Regions from separate parts of the Homo sapiens genome. Here region 2 is linked to region 1. Evidence: promoter capture Hi-C in 16 types of primary human blood cells and fetal thymus (Javierre and others, 2016). All regions are on one chromosome and are shown on one strand. The core of a region is centred on a gene start or on the middle of the fragment in contact, and the rest is flanking DNA. Distances in the headings are between cores, read along the strand shown. Region 1 holds the start of TBX18 (T-box transcription factor 18). Region 2 overlaps LINC01611 (long intergenic non-protein coding RNA 1611).

Region 1 (2,772 bases), core at 76-2,575:
TTCTAGAAGGCTCTTCAGACCCCGCTTTCGCCAAACTCCCGGCGCCCTGCGCTTCCAGCCCAGCAGAGAAAAGTGTGAAAAGCAAGCCCGCGGTCGCCGTCGGCCTTGGCAGAGAAATCAAGAGGAGAAGGGAAGGGAACCGCTCAACTACCCTTCGGGAAACCAAGTTTCCAAATATGCCGCCCTCTTCCTGGTTTGCACAAACGGTTTAGGGCATTCGTTCCGGTTTCAGGGTGGGGTATGCCGTCGCTCCCCTCCTCCCCGCCCTGTGCTTTTAAAAGTTAGGAAACAAAAAAGAGCACCCATTGGCTGGAACCCCAAGGGAGGCAGATGCAGGAAGCACAGAGCTGCACCGCTAGGCGCAGCAAACAGCCGCGGCCGAAGGCGCGGGTCGCCGAGTGGGCGGCGGCCGCCCGCGAGGCGAGCCTGGAAGCAGTATCTGAACCGTCTGGAGGGTGACCAGGTTGCGCGGCGAGCTTTGCGACTGACACGGCCAATGCGCTAGTGGCTGAGTGGCCTTGGCCATGTAGGGACGCGGCGCGCACGCACACCCACAGACTCGCAGAAGTTCAGGTTCGCGCCGGAGAGAAGTTATAGGCAGGAAGGGGCCCACTCACCCGCGGCTCCGCGCTCCAGGTCTGCGCCACTCCGAGCCGGCCCAGACGTCGCCCCAGCCGGCGGCGGGAGCGCAGCGCCTTCGTCTCCCTCAGAAGAACCCTTTTCGCCCGCGCCGCCGCCGCGGCTGCAGCCTCCGTCGTCCACGGCCCCCGCCGCCTCTTCGGCGCCCAGTTTTCGCCGCTTCTTCTGAAGCTGTTGCTGCTTCTCGGCGCCGATCAGCGCCTCCACCGAGAAAGCGTGCGCCTTGAGGCTTAGCATGCTGCACGGCGAGCCCCTTCGCTTCTCGGCCATCCCCCCCGCCCCGCGCCCGCCCGCCCCTCTCTCATATACACTCACGCGGGCACACGCGCGCTCTCGCTCTTCCCCCACCAAAAACTAAAAGGCTCTCGGGGCCTCCCGAGATCTGCCCCCTTCCCCACCGCGGGCAAAAAACAGATTTGGCGTTTCCGCTTTCTCGCTTGTGTTGGGATCCAGGAACCGGCGACGCGCCGGCCAAGTCTCCTTTCCTGGGTCTCTCTCGCGCGCTCTCTCACTGATGCACTCCTTTGCTCCCACCCCTTCCACCTCCTCCTGCTGCTCCGAGGTCTGCCTCAACTGATGCGCCAGAGAGGACTAACATGGGTAAAAAACACTCTGTGGACACAAATTAGGGATTGTAATTGAAATTTGTTGCCTTGATCTGTCAGCACTTCCAGGCAGGAGAGCGGTGGGAAGAACTTGCTCATTAGTGTCAATAAAGCGGCGGGGGCGGAGCCCGGGTCCCTGTCCATCACCCAGACGGCCGGCCAATCAGGAGGCGCCGACTCCGCGCAGCCCGCGCCCACTTCCTTACAAGGTAGCGAAAAACCAGGAGTGAAAAGCGCCGCTGTCTGGCTTGGATGTGCCAGCCACACGGACGCTGAACTCTGTCTCTCTGACGTCCGTAGCTGAGTCCAGCCCCGTAGTCTCCAGCTTTCCTCACCAGGACCTGGAAAGGCGGAAGTTCCCGGCTTTAAACTAGACGTTCAACAAGTTAGAAAATCAGGAATCTTTCAAGGTTCCGTAAATTGCCGTCCCACTTCCGTATCGCTTAATGTTGCTACAACTCAGAATATTGGGAAGCTGGGAAGAATTCGCAGGCCCCTCCTTTCTCATTTAAATGTTCCTGCACTCAGTCTGCGCCAGATATGGCTTAGGCTTATTTAAACTTTACTCCGTGATTTTTTTCTTAGGGGATACCAGGTTAAGAAATATGTAAATCCTTTAGGAGTGCAAAATGTTACGTTAACGCTCAGTCCGTCATATAAATGTCAGAAAAAGCACGCCCTTTCCGCAGCCCACCTTTTCTTTCAAAGAGTGGTAGTTATTTTAAAACGTAGGTCATGGGATTTTCATTCTGTACGTCTTTAACGATATGGACAACTTTAAAACCCCTTAAAACTTCGCAAAATGAAATAAGTATGAAGACGCAATAAAATTCCCCATTTGAAAAACTTCTCTGTGATTTAAGTAAGTTTATATTTGTCCTACTGTTGACAATTTACAATCGTTACTTCAGGCTTTTAAGGAGTCCATTGATGTATTTAAAACAAATTTAATAAAATCAGTGCTTTTTAATTAAATGACACCAAACATATATATTTGTACAATTTGTTTTGTAGTTTCAACTCGACTTTTTGTTAGGATTAACAAATATATATATATATGTTTGGTATAAATAGAGCAAATCTCTTGTGGAATAAAATTAATCGTGCATATTACTCCATCTTTTGTATAAAATACACGGCAGGCCGGGCGCGGTGGCTCACGCCTGTATTCCCAGCACTTTGAGAGGCCTACGCGGGCGGATCACGAGGTCAAGAGATCGAGACCATCCTGGCCAACATGGTGAAACCCCCGTCTCTACTAAATAAATAAATAAATACAAATAGTAGCTGGGCGTGGTGGTGCACGCCTGTAGTCCCAGCTACTCGGGAGGCTGAGGCAGGAGAATCGCTTGAACTCGGGAGGCGGAGGTTGCAGTGAGCCCAGATCGCGCTACTGTACTCCAGCCTGGCGACGCAGCAAGACTCCGTCTCTGTCTCTCTCTCTGTCTCCATATGTGTGTGTGTGTATATATATATATATATATATGACAAAGGAATTTTTTCCTCTCCCTCGTCCCTCGTTTAATTC
Region 2 (2,772 bases), core at 78-2,577, 310 kb before region 1:
GTAGGAAACAACCTTTCCATCTGCAGGTAACTGCAACTAAATCTCTGGGTTAACAGAACATGCAAATCTGCTTTGCTCTTGATTTATTCCCTATCTTGAGCCAGGCACTAAATTTGCTTTGAGTTCACAGTTTTTCAGTCTGTTATTCTTGCAAACGTTCTGAGGCATCAACTGCAACTTTAATATGTTTTAATGCTATGGCAGATTCTAAGGATCAGAAGACTACTTTTCTGGCTTTTGGGCCAGACTCGGGTGTGACAATTTAATATAACTTATTAAACATAAATAATTGTAAACTAGTTCAACCATTGTGGAAGACAGTGTGGCGATTCCTCAGGGATCTAGAACTAGAATTACCATTTGACCCAGCCATCCCATTACTGGGTATATACCCAAAGGATTATAAATCATGCTGCTATAAAGACACATGCACACCTATGTTTATTGCAGCACTATTCACAATAGCAAAGACTTGGAACCAACCCGAATGTCCAACAATGATAGACTGGATTAAGAAAATGTGGCACATATACACCATGGAATACTATGCAGCCATAAAAAATTATCATGTCTTTTGTAGGGACATGGATGAAGCTGGAAACCATCATTCTCAGCAAACTATCGCAAGGACAAAAAACCAAATGCCACATATTCTCACTCATAGGTGGGAACTGAACAATGAGAACACTTGGACACAGGAAAGGGAACATCACACACTAGGGCCTGTTGTGGGGTGGGGGGAGGGGGGAGGGATAGCATTAGGAGATATACCTAATGTAAATGACCAGTTAATGGGTGCAGCACACCAACATAGCAGATGTATACATATGTAACAAACCTCCACGTTATGCATGTGTACCCTAGAACTTAAAGTATAATAAAAAAATAAAAAATAAATATACTTTTATACTTTTAAGAAAAATACCACAATGCCTTGGTTGTGTTTAGTGGATGTAAGAAAAGAGTGAATTCATTTCTGGAAATATCAAGATTGCAAACCTGTATTTCTTTGCAAGGGGATAAAAGCTTTTGCCCTGAGTAATCTTGAAGCATCCCTTAGATTTGTGTGATGCTCATGCTGCTGATGAACAAGTCACAGCAGGGGCATAAGAAGCGGTCACTGAAGGAGCAGCTGTTGAAGGATGGGGTACTCTAGTAACTTTTCATTTGGGGATAAGGAAGGAGTTCTTGTATCTTTTCTAGCTAGATAGAACACAAACACGTCACAGGTCACATTTATAAATAAAATTAAGAACATGTTGTTTCTTGTGAGCTCTTTCTAATCTGTCATGTTGTTTTCACTGAACTCTAGTTGTGTAACATCAATTTGAAGTAAAGCTAAAGAGGAAATGGATTATTTTGATGCCTGTGCTCCATCTCTCACCATCATCCCATGCTTGAATGGTTTGCATTTTATTGCAATGCCACCTTTCTAGAAAAGCTCAGGTCAACCTTGAGCTTAGCTAGCTCCATGATGAGGAAGTACAGAGGCCAATGAAAGTCAGTCCCCCCATTAGACCATGATTCTTAGCACTTCTGTTATAACTACCAGCACTTCTCTCCCTCCACCAGCTACCTCTCATAAGACACATATCTATTGAGTTCATTTTTTTTCTTCCATTGGCAAGTTAAGCTTTTTTTTTTAACAAAATAAACTTTATTTAAAAGTATTTTTTACAGACATTACAGCTTTTAAAGAAAAAGCTCTTTAGTTAACTGTGTATGGAAATGAAAAATATTAATAACATTAGTATAACAGACCTCTAAATATTAATACATTGGCAAAATAAAATGGACTTAAAATGCAAATGAATCTTAATGCTCCGCTATTCTCTGTAAGAATATTTACTTTCTGTTTTTCTTATTCTTTACAGGTGAGAATGACAATACAACTTTGTGTATTGTCTGGACCCCAATTTATAATGGATCCTTCTGGTAAGATCTGTTCAGAACATTTTCAACTGCTTGATACCCTACTTTTAATCAATTAGTATCTTGAGCATCAGTTTTCCTCTTCTTCAGTCCCTAAATTCACTGAATTTTCTGAGATCACACATTCAATTCTCATTGACATTCTGTACCATTAGCCAAGGTCTTCAGAAAATTTAGATGAGGGCAAAAACATCACATATAAATGAACAGTGTTTTAGGTCTCTGATCTTTATATATCACTGAAAACTAGGTGATGGATTTGCAATCCCCATGGCATTTATCTGTCAGTTCTTAATAGAATCACTACATTGCTTCCATATGCTCAGTTATTACACTTCCTCTGTTTCATTTTGGCCCATCTCCATGCTCTGTGACTATCTAGTGACTTTCCAGTGGAATGTTGGGAGCCTCACTGAAACTTGGCATGTTGTGAATTAAGTCCCTCTTTGTTTGGGATTGTACCAGCTCTACTAATAAAAATCATTCTGCTAAATGAATACATATCTCCAATTATTCTCTTTTTATTTTTTTGTCTTCATAACATAAAAACATTAGTTCAGTCAATTTGCTCATTTCAACCAAATGGGATAATCAGTTTTTCTATTTTTAAGTTGCCCACTGCCTGGATATCATCATAGGCATCAAGTACACATGTGGTTCTCAAAGCCTCTTCCTCCTTTTAGTAGATTTAATAGTTTCTGCCCCAAATTAATGTCCACCTGGAACCTCAGAACATGATTGTACTTGGAAAAAGGGTTATTGCCAATGTAATTAGTTAGGGATCAAGATGAGATAATACTGGATTAAGGTAAGCCCTAAGTCCAATGAGAGTCTCCTTAT

What was found. The method cuts DNA at HindIII sites, captures the fragments that hold promoters and counts their contacts. A CHiCAGO score of 5 or more calls a contact.
Region 2: a contact is called between a fragment that was not itself captured here and the fragment with the promoter of TBX18 in region 1, in 1 of 17 cell types (endothelial precursors). The highest score is 5.3, in endothelial precursors.

Annotation. Positions count from the first base shown.
Region 1 is chr6:84,763,273-84,766,044 of GRCh38, forward strand. TBX18 (T-box transcription factor 18) reads right to left here and starts at 1,326. Exons shown (of 8, transcript NM_001080508.3): 1 at 618-1,326. The coding sequence starts at 909. All of the region lies in intron 1 of LOC124901353 (a long non-coding RNA gene), which reads left to right. RefSeq lists enhancers at 59-643, 644-1,227, 1,239-1,533. The HindIII fragment of the contact is 3,607 bases long and covers 1-2,772 here.
Region 2 is chr6:84,451,393-84,454,164 of GRCh38, forward strand. The region is part of intron 3 of LINC01611 (long intergenic non-protein coding RNA 1611); the gene reads right to left. It overlaps LOC107986620 (a long non-coding RNA gene), which reads left to right. Exons shown (of 4, transcript XR_001744236.1): 2 at 1,875-1,935. Among named protein-coding and RNA genes, the nearest start is that of LINC01611, 22 kb to the right of the region's middle. The HindIII fragment of the contact is 607 bases long and covers 1,025-1,631 here.